Regions from separate parts of the Homo sapiens genome. Here regions 1, 2, 3 and 4 are each linked to region 5. The links are contacts of gene promoters, found by promoter capture Hi-C in blood cells and fetal thymus (Javierre and others, 2016). All regions are on one chromosome and are shown on one strand. Each heading gives the region's core, a stretch centred on a gene start or on the middle of the fragment in contact. The rest is flanking DNA. Distances are from core to core; before and after follow the strand shown. Region 1 has its middle 9.5 kb from the start of SGPL1. Region 2 overlaps SGPL1 (sphingosine-1-phosphate lyase 1). Region 3 overlaps ADAMTS14 (ADAM metallopeptidase with thrombospondin type 1 motif 14). Region 4 overlaps SGPL1 (sphingosine-1-phosphate lyase 1). Region 5 holds the start of PALD1 (phosphatase domain containing paladin 1).

Evidence for each region. Contacts are between HindIII fragments. The CHiCAGO score rates a contact against its expected background, and 5 or more counts as called.
Region 1: a fragment that was not itself captured here is called in contact with the fragment with the promoter of PALD1 in region 5 in 2 of 17 cell types (total CD8 T cells and naive CD8 T cells); the score reaches 5.8 in total CD8 T cells.
Region 2: a fragment that was not itself captured here is called in contact with the fragment with the promoter of PALD1 in region 5 in 2 of 17 cell types (total B cells and naive CD4 T cells); the score reaches 5.7 in total B cells.
Region 3: a contact is called between a fragment that was not itself captured here and the fragment with the promoter of PALD1 in region 5, in 3 of 17 cell types (naive CD4 T cells, naive B cells and endothelial precursors). The highest score is 7.0, in naive CD4 T cells.
Region 4: a contact is called between a fragment that was not itself captured here and the fragment with the promoter of PALD1 in region 5, in 1 of 17 cell types (total CD8 T cells). The highest score is 5.3, in total CD8 T cells.

What each region holds. Positions count from the first base shown.
Region 1 is chr10:70,805,080-70,807,779 of GRCh38, forward strand. No RefSeq gene overlaps it. Among named protein-coding and RNA genes, the nearest start is that of SGPL1, 9.5 kb to the right of the region's middle. The HindIII fragment of the contact is 1,332 bases long and covers 763-2,094 here.
Region 2 is chr10:70,853,966-70,856,665 of GRCh38, forward strand. SGPL1 (sphingosine-1-phosphate lyase 1) reads left to right here. Exons shown (of 15, transcript NM_003901.4): 5 at 743-890. Among named protein-coding and RNA genes, the nearest start is that of PCBD1, 33 kb to the right of the region's middle. The HindIII fragment of the contact is 936 bases long and covers 823-1,758 here.
Region 3 is chr10:70,754,031-70,756,730 of GRCh38, forward strand. The region is part of intron 19 of ADAMTS14 (ADAM metallopeptidase with thrombospondin type 1 motif 14); the gene reads left to right. Among named protein-coding and RNA genes, the nearest start is that of TBATA, 30 kb to the right of the region's middle. RefSeq lists an enhancer at 2,605-2,700. The HindIII fragment of the contact is 2,438 bases long and covers 181-2,618 here.
Region 4 is chr10:70,832,332-70,835,031 of GRCh38, forward strand. The region is part of intron 2 of SGPL1 (sphingosine-1-phosphate lyase 1); the gene reads left to right. Among named protein-coding and RNA genes, the nearest start is that of SGPL1, 18 kb to the left of the region's middle. The HindIII fragment of the contact is 738 bases long and covers 961-1,698 here.
Region 5 is chr10:70,477,517-70,480,216 of GRCh38, forward strand. PALD1 (phosphatase domain containing paladin 1) reads left to right here and starts at 1,251. Exons shown (of 20, transcript NM_014431.3): 1 at 1,251-1,543. RefSeq lists silencers at 867-936, 1,137-1,586 and an enhancer at 2,581-2,700. The HindIII fragment of the contact is 7,738 bases long and covers 1-2,190 here.

The sequences.
Region 1 (2,700 bases), core at 179-2,678, 330 kb after region 5:
AGGGAGCCAGAGAAATTAAGACTTAATGTGCTAAGTGTTAGGGAAATGGAGACACAGGAAAAGAGAATTCGAGCCTACCTAGGGGTCTTGGGGAAGGTTGCAAAGTAGACCAAGGAGAGAAGGATGTTCCAAGAAAAGGGAATAGCACATGCAAAAGTCTGGAGCTATAAAAGCCCAGGGCATGTTATGGAAACTCTAAGTTGTTCTAGATGGCTAGGGAGACTAGAAGACTCAGATTGTTAGAACAGACCAATTTATGCTTGTTGTCCCAGAAAACTTAATAATATGTCCTTAGTTTCAAAAGTATCCCAGATAGTCACTGTGAGTATAGTTGGGACATAAAGTCTGAGAGTGAGGTGGAAATGGGGGAGATGAAGGTGGAGAGAAGCAGCGGCTGATCGTAGAGGTCACTGTGGCCAAGTTCAAGAAAGGCATTCAGTTAACTGGGCTTCTTATGGTGTCTTTCCCTTCAAGGTTATCTTCTCCAGATATGATCTGATTCACAGATAGATCAATACAGCCACTGACAGATGATTATTGCTATGGGCTACCATTTACGGAGCGCTTACCAGGTAAGTGCTTTCCATGTAGGCTGGGGTGAGGCCCAGGTAACCTCTGCTGACTTAGTTATGCTTGTCCTTTAACTGATTCTCTGCCAGTAGGCCTTGGGTTTTGACTTGTTTTTACTGTTGTGAGGTCATGTCCTGAGACAACATTGGGCAAGTCCCAAAGGGCCTTCTGTTCCCAACTAGAAACTTTGTAAGCTTTCCCTGGAGGGGGACAGCTGAGGTCAGGAGATGGCTACTAGCTATAAACAGTTTGTTTTAAAGGACTTGTATGATGTCTGTATTGAAGGGATTCATATGAATATTCAAATGAAATGAGTTGAGTTTGTTCTAAGATGATGCAGTAGCTAGGAATGTTGAGTTAGATGTTTGGATGGGCAGCCAGGGCACATGGTTTAAACATTTGACGCACTTGAATTCAATGGATAGTGGATAGCAAGAGTGGGCATTTGAAATATGTCTGAGTGAGTGGTTTCCTCTGCAGCACCTCCTGCAACAGCTGTCCCTAAGTGGCAGGTGTGGGTTTATACCCTAAAACTGAATGTAGCAGTGCCCTCAAGCAGACCCACAAGGACTAGCTTGAGGCTGCTTTGTCTCCCAGAAAGACAGTTGGCAGCAGCTATTGGAGGGCTCTGCAGGCTTCCAAGTCCCCACCACTGCCCCAACACTTGGGTGGTCAGTGGGCACATGAGGCCACTGAGAATGGTCATGTCACCCTGCCCTTCCCATTCCTCCATTGCCAACCTACTGAGGTTTGGGGCTAGCGTGAGAATCTATTTGTGTTAGCTTGCTAATCAGGCTGTTGTAACAAAGTGCCACAAACTGGGTGGCTTGCACAACAGAAATGGATTGTCTCCCATTTCTGCAAGATAGAAGTCTGAGATCAAGGTGTTGGCAGGGCTGGTTCCTTCTGAGAGCTATGAGGAAAAACACGTTTCATGGCCCTCTCCTAGCTACTGGTGGTTTGTTGGCAACCTTTGATGGTCTTTGGCTTATAAAGTCATCACTCTGATTGCTACCTTCATTTTCACATGGTGCTCCCCCTCTATGCATGTCTGTCCAAATTGCCCCATTTTATAAGGACACCAGTCATATTAGGCTAGGGGTGCACCCTATTCCAGTAATACTTCATCTTAACTCATTACATCTGCCATGACCCTATTTTCCAGTAAGGCCATATTCACCACATGGATTGTTGGGGGACACAGTTCAACCCATAGCACTTAGGATAAATTGAAATAGCATCAGCATGAACACAATTACTCTACTGGTTACTTCTGCCAAACAACCTTCAAGTCAGAAAGAATCCTGTGGTTAAGGGAGAGGTACCGCAATCCAGCTGCAACAAGTTAAAGGTGTAGCCCACTAGCTATGGGTTAGTTTGCCCTGAGCTCTGAATGTGACTTCTTCCCTGGGAATCTTGGCTTGAGGGCACATGTGGGAGCCTGCTTGCCAGGCACAGGGTAGCCTGTGGCTTTGGGAGTCTTGTTTTAATCTGTTCTGTCACTTTCCAAAGGTCTGTCTTCTAAGCTTATGCCATTGTTGTACCCTAGAACCAACTATTTTCATTCTTTGCTGAGTACCTTTTCTGCCCATATGAATTCTCTCCTAGCCATTCTCCATACCACGCAGACGGATTGTTCTAAAACACAAATGTGATATTGTCAGTCCCTTGACTGAAAAGACCTCAACGGCTGTTGCTCTTTGGATGAAGATCAAAACACTGTTTCCTACAGGACTGGGAGGTCTCAGACAGGAGGATTGCCATCTGCATTTGCATTTATTTAAAAAACAATTGAACTGGTGACATTCTGTTTCTTGATCTGGGTGGTGCTGAACAATGGTGTTCACTATGTCAATATTCATCTAGCTCTACACTTTGATTTGTGGACTTGTCTGTACATACAATGTATCCCAATTTTAAAAAATCTTCAAAACAACTGAATGAGTTGCCCAAAGTTCTGGGAGTTCCTTGGTCGTATTACACTTTATGATCTTTTAGATCTCTTGACCAATACCATACAACTAGAGATTTTTTTCCCCCTTTCTATCTTGGGAGGAAAAAGATGGAATTAACAAACAGAGGTGATTCAGTGAGTTACATTGTGGTCACAAGATAAATTATGCACATTGC
Region 2 (2,700 bases), core at 41-2,540, 380 kb after region 5:
TTTACTGCAGCATGGCCAGTTTTCTGGCCACTGTTCCTAGTTATACCTTTGATTCTTTTACACACACACTGTAGCTGCTGCCAAGGCAGGATCAAAGTCCAAATACTGCCCTCAAGGATGTGCTGACTTTAGCAATGCCAACCAAGTGAAGCAGCAGTGATGTCAATGTGGCAGAGAAAAGGGTTATGGGGAAATTGGGTGCAACTTTTTTTTTTTTTTTTTTGAGACAGAGTCTTGCTCTGTTGCCCAGGCTGAATGGAGTACAGTGGTGTGATCTTGGCTCACTGCAACCTCCACCTCCTGGGTTCAAGTGATTCTCATGCCTCAGCCTCCCAAGTAGCTGGGATTACAAATGCCTGCTACCATGCCTGGCTAATTTTTGTATTTTTAGTAGAGATGGGGTTTCACCATGTTGGCCAGGCTGGTCTCGAACTCCTGACCTGTAATGATCTGCCCACCTCGGCTTCCTGAAGAGCTGTGATAATAGGTGTAAGCCACCGCGACCGGCTGAGTGCATCTTGACCTTTAGAGAGAAGCTTCGCTTTTCAAATTTTTAAGAGGCTATTGTACATGCCAGAAAGTAGCTGATCAGTCAGAATATCACCATATATCTTTAGGAAAAATGTTAGTTTAGTTACTTGTGCGGTGCCTAGCATTGAGCAGTTGCTTGACTGTCATAATAATTCTGCTGTCTCTACTGTACTCTTGCATCTGGATAACTTTGTCTTTCTTACCTTTGGAGATTCAAGACAAGTTGAACAAGACCAAGGATGATATTAGCAAGAACATGTCATTCCTGAAAGTGGACAAAGAGTATGTGAAAGCTTTACCCTCCCAGGGTCTGAGCTCATCTGCTGTTTTGGAGAAACTTAAGGAGTACAGCTCTATGGGTATGATGCTTGGCATATACATGCTCTCTACTTCCTTAAAGAGACAGGTTTTGTCATTGTTTAATGTTCACATAGGTTAAGAATAACTCATCATTGGTTAATACATGTTTAGGAGGGCCTACTCTCTGTTTCACAGGTTGAATTTCCTATTTTTAAAATTATGTTTAGATTCATCCTTCATCCATAAAGCAAGCAAATCTCAGAGACAGTGGAACTTGGCTTTTATTTCCTTTTGTAAGCATGAATAAAACAAATATATTTGTGTTTAAGAAGAGAGAATATAAGATATGTAATACAAATGAAATACAGATCCATGTAAAAATGTGAAATCTGCATAAAGGCACAAAAGAAAATAAGTCACTATAATTCCACTATCAAAGATAAACAGATGGTGTCTATCTTTATGCATGTAGCTATAGGTAGAGCTGTCTATATAGTTTACATCTATCTATATATGTATATCTGTCTGTTTCTGAGAATGCTAATAGTGTTTGTCTGTGTGTATACACATGTATGCATGAGCACATATGGGATGGATAAATAGACCAAATAGCTTGGTGCTTAAGAGCGTAACCCTGGAACCAGCCTGGATTCATACCTTGGTTTGCCACTTAAAGTATGCCTTTGGCGAGTTACTTCTGTATGTCACAGTTCCTGTATCTCTACAATGGGGATAGTAATAGTAGTACAGTACTTACCTGAAAAGATGATTATGGGGATTAAATGAGATCATACATGTATAAATGTTTTATAGTGCCTGGCATATAGTAAGGATTCAGTAAATGTTAAACATTATTGCTATTATTAACTCAAACAGATTTATGTTTGTTACTGATTAAGATCATATTACAAGTACTTTTTAAAAAGAAGCTTTTTAGTTTGATATATTTACAGAAAAGTAGCAAAGATGATAGAGATTTCCCTATACCCAGCTTCTCCTGATGTTAACATCCTCTATAACCATGGTACGTTTATCAAAACTAAAAAATTAACATTGGTACAGTGCTATTAACTACACTACAAATTCTATTTCTAGTTCATCAGGGTTTTTTTTTGTTTTGCTATGTTTTGTTTTAAACTAATGTTCTTTTTTCTATTCTAGGAGCCAACCAGGAGCCATGTTGCATTTTGACAAATACCCTTATTTTTTATTTTTTGAGACAGAGTCTCACTGTGTTGCCCAGGCTGGAATGCAGTGGTGTGATCTCAGCTCACTGCAACTTCCACCTTCCAGGCTTAAGCAATTCTCGTGCCTCAGCCTCCCAAGTAGCTGAGATTACAGGCGTGCGGCACCATACCCAGCTAATTTTTTGTGTTTTTAGTAGAGATAAGATTTCACCATGTTGCCCAGGTTGGTCTCGAACTCCTGAACTCAGGTGATCTGCCCACCTTGGCCTCCCAAAGTGCTAGGATTACAGGTGTGAGCCACTGTGCTCGGCCTTGACAAATACCCTTACAATTTCTAAGTGACATGTGTTGAGGTCTTGACATTGAATAGTACAAAATTTGATATAGTCTAGGATGTAGATGAATAAAGCAGTGGTTAGCACTCTAAAACCTGGTGTTAAAGATTTCCATGATTATGAGACCTGGTTGCCGCCATCATATTGCCTTCTCTTTAATGTTTAAGTCACTGTCCATTGCTGTATTCTCTAGCATCAGTAAAAGAACAGGAAATGAAACCAGTTATCTTATTTTTGAAAGGCTGGTGACCACTGGTCTGAAGCTGTGTATAGTACAGAGCAGTGTCCTCTAAGGAAAGAGTGAAAGTCAAACGGGCAGCAAGCCAGAGCTTGGCAGATTGCTGTAA
Region 3 (2,700 bases), core at 150-2,649, 280 kb after region 5:
AGGGGCTTGGGGAGGAGGTGGGTCTGAGGGATTTTTTTGGTGTTCCCTGCAGGCAAGAGAGTTTCTGCCTGAATGGCTCCCCCTACATCAAATTTTGTTTTCCTTAAAGTAGAATAGCTCCTACGTACCCTGGGCCGTGGCTCTGTGCTAGGCCTTTAGGTTCATTCATTCCTGCCAGTAAGCTTCACACAGTGCCAGGAGGCATGGGTTCATGTCCCTGTGTTCCAGATGAGCAGACTGAAGTACACTCTTGCATTCCAGAAATACTTGCTGAGCACTAGCTGTATGCCAGACCTTGTACTAAGAATGAGGGAACCTAGCATCAACCAGACAGAGCTGATTCTTGCCCTCGTGCAGCCCACAGTCCTGTGAGGGAAATGTATTAGGCCATCAACCCACAGCCAAGCACTGACAGACTGCAGTCGGAGCTGGGTGGGGAGTAGTGGGTCGATGTGGTGGAGGATGGAGGGCGGTCAGAGGGCTTCTCTGAGGAGGTGTTGCTCAAGCTGAGACCAGAGGGACAAGCCACAGGAAGAGACCAAGTCAGGAACAATTTTACAACGTTCCAGAAGCCAACAGGACAGTGGGGCTGGAGCTGACTGGGAGGGATAGGGGCTGCGAGATAACACTGGGGAGGCAGGCGGGGGTCCATGGCTACGGGCTTTGCAAGGGGTTTGCATATATTCTAAGAGCAATGGGAAACCAGGGAAGCCTTTTAACATGGGCATTACAAGCTCTGATTTCAGGTTGTAAAGATCACTCTGACGGTGCTGTGGAAGGTTGAGCGTTAGACAGTCAGGGTAGCGAAGGGGAGATAGCAGTAGCGCTGCTTAGTTATTTGGGTGCTCTGTGGCTCAGACCCTGGAGGCCACCTTCGGGAAACTGCCTTGACGAAATTGTCTTGGGTTTTCTTTTAAATACTCATTTGATGTGAACATTGAGAACATCATGCCAAGTAAAACAAGCCAAGCTGGATGCAGTGGCTCATGCCTGGAATCCCAACACTTTGGGAGGCTGAGGTGGGCAGATCTTTGGGAGGCTGATGTGGGTGGATTGCTTGAGCCCAGGAATTCGAGACCAGCCTGGGCAACAGAGCAAGACCTCGCCTCTACAAAAAATGTAAAAAGTTAGCTGGGCGTGGTGGTGTGTGCTTGTAATCCCAGCTGCTCTGGAGGCTAGGGTAGGAAGATTGCTTGAGCCCACGAGGTCAAGGCTCCAGTGAGCTATGACCATACCATGCCACTGCACTCCAGCCTGAGTGACAGAGCAAGAGCTTGTCTCACAAAAAAAAAAAAAAAAAGAAAAGAAATAAGCCAGACATCCAGACATGTAAGGACAAACACTCCATGAGGGCACTTTGCTGGTGATTTCCAGGGGCTGCTGGAGGGTGAATGAGGGGTTAGTGTTTAATAGGCGAGGAGTTTCAGTTGGGAAAGAAGAAAATGTTCTGGAAACAGATGGTGGTAATGATTGTACAACAATGGGAATGTGCTTAATGCCACTGAACCATAGACTTAAAAATAGTTAAGATGGGCTGGGCGCGGTGGCTCACGCCTGTAATCCCACCACTTTGGGAAGCCAAGGCAGGCAGATTGCCTGGGGTCACGAGTTCAAGACCAGTCTGGCCAACATGGTGAAACCCCGTCTCTACTAAAAATGCAAAAATTAGCCGGGTGTGGTGGCTGGCGTATGCCTGTAATCTCAGCTACTCGGGAGGCTGAGGCAGGAGAATCGCTTGAACCTGGGAGGCAGAGGTTGCAGTGAGCCAAGATCACGCCATTGTATTCCAGCCTGGGCGACAAGAGCGAAACTTTGTCTCAAAAAAAGAAAAAATTAGTTAAGATGGCAAACTTTATGTTATATAGATATTACCCCAATTTAAAAAACCTCATTTGATCACAATGCTGTTTATTGCAACAGCAAAACATTAGGACGTATCTCAAATGTTTATCTATAGAAGATTGGACAAAAATCATGGTCTGTTCATATAATACAGTACTATACAACAAGAAAAATGAACAGGCCTGAACTGTACTTACCAAAATAGATAAACTTCTGTTATAGAGAATACATTTAGGTGAGAAAAAGTACTTCAGTATGAAGTAAAAAAGCACTTCCAATGGATGTCATTTCCTTAATGTTTAGAGGGACACAACACAATCTGAAAATATTCTGGGATGCTCATTTATTAAGGCTGGTGGTGGCATCTGGATAGGGTTTTGTGAATAACTCCATACTTTTCTGTATTTTGAAATATTGCATTATGAATATTTGTAAAGAACCAAAAATCCACACACAACTCATGCATTTTATATGTCTCCATAATATATAGCTTCATTTGTTTTGATATAAAACAGATTGCTGGTCTTCAAAGGACCCCACAGATAAAAGTAACAGAGAGATGGCAGATAGTGGAAGATACTGGCCCTGTCGCAATAAGCAAAATATAGAGATGAATCTCTAAATTTAACTTTTATTAAGTAAGAATTGCAATTCAAGGCATACACAGAGACCGGGTGGTCTTCAGTATGTCCAAAGAACAAAGGAAAGGTTGGGGGTTTTATTAGAAAGAGACATGATATGTATTGTGTTGAACACCAACTCATTGGCACTAGACAAGCTTTTGGGAGCTGGCAAGCTCTGACTGGTGAGTGATGGTGCTATGGAAAACTAGCCGTGGAGTCACAGCAGGTTGTTTCA
Region 4 (2,700 bases), core at 80-2,579, 350 kb after region 5:
GCTTTAGTTAGGTTACACTTCTCAGCAAATATTCAGTATTCCTCATCTCTAATAGCAGCATGACTGTTGTAGGGAAGGAATTTCCACAAATGGTTATGAAAAGTCTAAGTGTCTTAACTCCCAGACAAAGATAGAGAATTCTGTTAGTAAGATAAGTATGGGACTGGAGAAGTCAGCTAACCTCTGCCCTTCCCCAATCGTGATATGCTCAGAGAAGTTAAGACTTCTTTCTGTGTGAGAAATACGGGATCTTTTCCACTAGATCTTGCTTATTATCCAAGAAATTATCATTTCTAGTTTTAGAGAATGATGAAACTCATTTGTGCTTTGAAATATAACCTGTATACATGTGCACAGTAAGTCATTTAGCTATTTATTGTCAGACTCTGAGAGTTCATAGCAAACTTAGCAACATTCCATGTGCAAATTTGCATATTTTTCCCCCCATATCTTACCTACTTGCCTTAGGCTGGGAGTCTATTTTCCTACAAAACTGGTAATTGCTCTTATCTCTGTGTCCTTCAGTGTGTTCCTCTGCTTATTGAATTCAGTTTTATGCATTTAGTCTTCTCTCCTAGTATAAGCTGCTCCTGATACTTTTAAATATGTATTTCAGAAGAGAGGTGCTCAGAATTGTTACTTAACAGAATCAGCATCTCCCTTTACTTGATGCCTTGTCCTGACCACAAGTACATTAATAAAGTGACCATTTAGCAGTGTTTCGGGTTCAGCTTTTAGGAACTTAGAAGCTGTGGTTTTCCATGAGTGCACTTCTGATGACTTGGGAACATTTCATATGTGTGTTCTTTCTGTGGCCAAGATGGTTTTGTTATTTCAGGGATGGAAAGATGCTTTGCCTGAATACTCCCATGCTAAGTGTATAGCAGTTGGTGCTTGGGGAATGGTACCAAGTGTACATATCTGGCAAGGCCAGGCTAGAAGGGAAAATGTAGACTCTTAAGCTTTTTGAGACGAACTTCTCAGATACTGGATCTCTTGACTCACATAGTGGAATTTTGGGGGAAGTATGTGGTTTGCTTTTTGTCTCCTAAGAAATGATGATTCAGTTTCCTCAAACGTTTCTCACAGTCACTACTGGTTGCTTGGAATGGCTGTCTGGTTTTGTTGCTCAGTTCTTACTTCTTTAATGACCCAAGAGGATTTTCCCTTTGGGGTTGTGATGTGTTTTTGATGATAAACTTTAATGCTTTTGGAGGCTATAAAGACAATAGTATTTTCTTACCTGTTTACCTTGCACTTTGAAGTTCTGTAGACTGTAATATGAAAGAAAATCAGATTAAATTAGCTTTGCTTTCTGGCTTTTCTTTTTTTGGTGGGGGGGCAGAAGCTGATAAGAATAAATATACTAACTGAGTCTCTTCTGTATTTTAACTTCACTCCCTAGGCTGAGGCTTAGTCCTTAGAGTAACATTTGAACTGGGTAGAACAGATTTTTCTTTTCCTCAACAGCCCATTCCTGCTGTAAAGCTCAGATTTATGGTCCTTCTGGAAAAAGTATTGAGCGTTGAATAGTTCAGGAAAACAAATAACAAATTCTGTCTTCTTTGCAGGATTGTGGGGTAGAAGATTTTGATTTTTATTAGTATCTGGCCAAAGAATAAATATTAGGCAGGAACAATGAATTGATATCTAGTAGAGTGACGTGACTGGGCCCTGACTTTTAACACTTCCCAGGAAAGCTTCGTGGATGTCTTTTCCCTGCTGCGTGAATACCGGGTAGCCATTAAGTTTGGTGATTGGGTGTCAGTAATATGTTAAGTCAGCTACTGGGTCATCTTTTAATAAAAGAAAAGGATGGGGAAGAGAATGGATTCTTAAGCAGTGTTGCCTGTCAGAATCACCGGAGGGAGGTTTACAAAATACACATTCTGTACTCTGACCCTGTGGGTGGGGTATTCTGACCCAAGAAGATGATTCGTTCCAGGAATCATGCTTCTTGGATGATATTGATGTACCCCCACTGGCTTTATGGAAAGAATATTGAAGAAGAAGATAGATTCTCTTGGGGGCTGTGCCTCTAGTTTGAAACCAGGGAAGGCACATTTTGGTATTAGTCTGTGGCCTCAGTTTCTTCATCACTGCAATGAGATTGGACTATAGGTGGTCTCTAAGGTTCCTTCAGACAGTAGCATTTTATGATTTTGAAGACAACTTTTCTGAAGTACTTTTCAAACTAATTTCTTTCCGTCTTTCTTTTGTAAGCAAATAAGTAGTATGAGTGTAAGTCTCTAGCTCAGAGAAGAATGAAGTTTGCAGTTCGAAAAGGCCATGCAATAGCAGTTCACTTCCCCAAAATGCTCAGCCCTTGTAGGATGCCGTTAGGTCATCTGGAAGTTCTGTATGCCTTCACTGGGAGCGTAGTGAAGATGAGAGCCTTTCCTTTGGCTCTTGGAGTAAACTAGCTGACAGGACTTTGAGAACTGTTGGTCTCCTGATTTGTGCCACTGATAGTTTGGCTCTGGAAAACTAGGCAGTGGAAAAAACAATGCATTTTAAACCAGAAGATTTGAGTCCTGGCTCCGCTATTTCCGAGCTTTGTGACCTGTAGGCCTCAATGTCTTCATCTGTGAAGGACAGGTTCAGCTCTGATGGCCTATGATGTGATGAACCTTGTGAACTTGTAGGCAGAGTGCCACGGTGTGCAGAGTCCAGTTACAGATAACCAGCCATTCTCCTCTG
Region 5 (2,700 bases), core at 1-2,500:
TGGAGCTGAGGACAAGTCTTCCCTGGGCCTGTTTCCTCATTTGTTAAAATAGGGATCAGAAAAGTACCGACCTTATAACTTCGCGAGGCACTTAAGAGCTAGGTGCTAGGGACATGGTGAGACCACCACAATGAGTGATTTCTCTTGTCTTCAGTTATTCTTAGGGGTCATGGGGAATGTGTTCCCCTCTCCCAGCCCAGCGCTCTCCAGCCTGACAGAGGTGGGGCCTACACTGCCTGCATCCTGGGGCAACCCCAGCTCGCCGAAATCCAGCTCCAGTCCTGAATGGGGGTGAGGCAGGTGGTAACAGGTGAGAAAAAAGGATTTCCCGAGTGTGGAGCAGCGAGAGGGAGGAAGTGACTCACCAACCACAACAAAGCCTATCTCTCCGCGAGGAAGCACAGCGAAGAGTGAACGCACGCACGTGGGTGCGTTCACCCACGTGCTCGCGGGGGCGTGCGGGGCCGTCGGAGTGGGCCGGGCTGGCTGCCGCCTAGTGCTAGTCCGCGCGTGTGGGGTGAGGAGTGGTGGGGGGGGCAGGCCTATGGTGCGGGTCACTGCCTGGAGCCGCATGATGGGTGGGGGCGGAGGGACCCCTCTCCATCCAAAGCTCTGCTCTGCTGTTCCCCTCTCACCTCTGGGGGCCGAGGGGCGCGTTTCCTTAGGACCCCGGGGCGTGGGAGAAGCCCCTGCTTGGGGGGACCGTCTGCTGTTTAGGGGCTCCCCTTCGACACGTGGGAGGCAAAAGTGCAGAGCGCACCATCATCCAGCTCCGGCCGCACTGCACAGCGAGGCCGGCCCGGAGCCCGGATGCTGGGCTCGGTCCCGCCGAGGCTCGGCCTGGCTGTAAAGCAGAGGGGGGCGAGGGAAGCCGGGCCAGCGGGTGTCGCGGGTAGCCGGCGTCCGGGACGGGGTGTGGCGCCCAGAGCGCTGCTGCCTCTCGCAGCCAGGAGGCTGGATGTCGGGTTTGGGTGTCTTCCAGAAGGAGCCGCACTAGCGACGAGGGAAGAGGAACTGGCTTCCCGGGCAGTCTCCCCCGCCCCAAACTTTTCCTCCTCGCGGAGGGTGGGCGGGCGGAGGGAGGAAGCGCAGCCGGGGAACGTGGCGCCCGCGTTCCTCCCGCCCGGGGGCTGCGGCTGGGCTGAGTGTGTCTTTAAATCTGAGCCCCCCGCCCCTCGCGGTGGGGCCGGGACTCGCGGTCCGGGCGGGGGCGGGCGCGGTGATTGGCGGCCGGGTCGGGTCCGCCCCTCGGCGTTGGGTAGCGGGGCGCTGGGGAGCAGCGCGGCGCGCACGGGCCGGGGCGCGCAGGTCCCGTCGCCGGTGAGCACGGGCTCCCTCTCGCGTGGCCTCGCCGGGTCCGCCTGGCCTGCCCACCTCCGGAGCCACCTCTGCCCCCGCATGGGCTGGCGAAGTTGGGAGGAGCGAGCTGGAGCCAGAGCGCGCGCCGGGCGCGCCCCGTCGCTGCCTGACTCGGCGCCCGCAGTTCGGGCGCAGCACGCCGGCCGCAGGAGCACGGATGCCCCCCGGAGCCGCGGGCTGGCAGGTACCGAAGTGTCCTGCCCTGGGGCTGGCGAGGGGAGGGCAAATCTGGAATCCCCCGGGCACCCCCCAGCCCGAGGCTGCTCCAGACACCAACTCCCCATCCTTTGGAGAGGTGAGGTCCTGGGCCTTCACCCCACACCCGCTCAGGATTGGTCCCTGGGAGGCAAGAGGGACTCACAGGGAGCAGTTGCTGGGTGGTTGTGTGTGTTGGACCCTGGGCTACCCCCTCTCCCGAGTTCCCTGGGTTTGGTGTAGGCATGGCCTGGTGACAATTCCACTTTTCATTGCCAGACCTGGGAGCATGGCCAGGAGCTAGGGTTTCCCGCGAAGTTAGGGGGAGATTGGGGAGAGGGAAGCCGCTTCATGACCGAGATGGGGTCCTGGGACTCATCTCTAGGGGGCGTGAGGCCCTCAGACCCAGGACGAGTCCAGAAGTCTCAGCGGGCACAGGCTTTGATTCTTGGCCCAGTCTGGCCCTCTTCCTCTGTAGGCCCGGGTCTCCAAGGAGAGTACGTTTTTCAGTTTCAGAGGGTTTTCCTGAAGGGGCAGTAACCTGTCAGAGAGAGAGTGGCCTATGGGAGACCCGGCTCCTGAAGGTGGCCGGGATGGTTGGAGCCCTTTCTCTTGGGTTGTCAGAGATGGGAGTAAAGCTTCATGGCCCAGGGAATCTTCTGGGCATCTCTACTCTCCCAGCCAGAGGCCCAGGAACCAACTCCTTGGCTTCTGGGTAGAGTAACCTGAACCCAGTGGCCGAGCACCTCTTAAATGCCAGGAAGGGCACTGGGCCGTGCCCCTGGAATGTGTGGATGGAGGAGGATTTGGAGGATTCTGTCCTCAGGAGGCTCAGCCCCTGGGGGCAAGACAGGACATAAACACACAAAGTTCCCCGATACAGGGTTTCAATACCAGTCCTGAACTGGTAATAGTGGAAAGCCAAGAGGCTACACACCATTAATTGCTATGTGAGTAATGTAGGCTGCGAGAGTGCCAGGGCAGCAGAGATCCAGTTCCATGCAAGCAAGCAAATGTGCTGAAATGTTCCAGCTCCATGCCCGCCCTTCCTTATTACCTTGCTCCAAGGGCAGGGAGCAGCAGGGGCGCTGAGGAGGTTCTCCTGCACTCATCCCCACCCACTCCCAGGTTTGTTTGTTTCCTGCT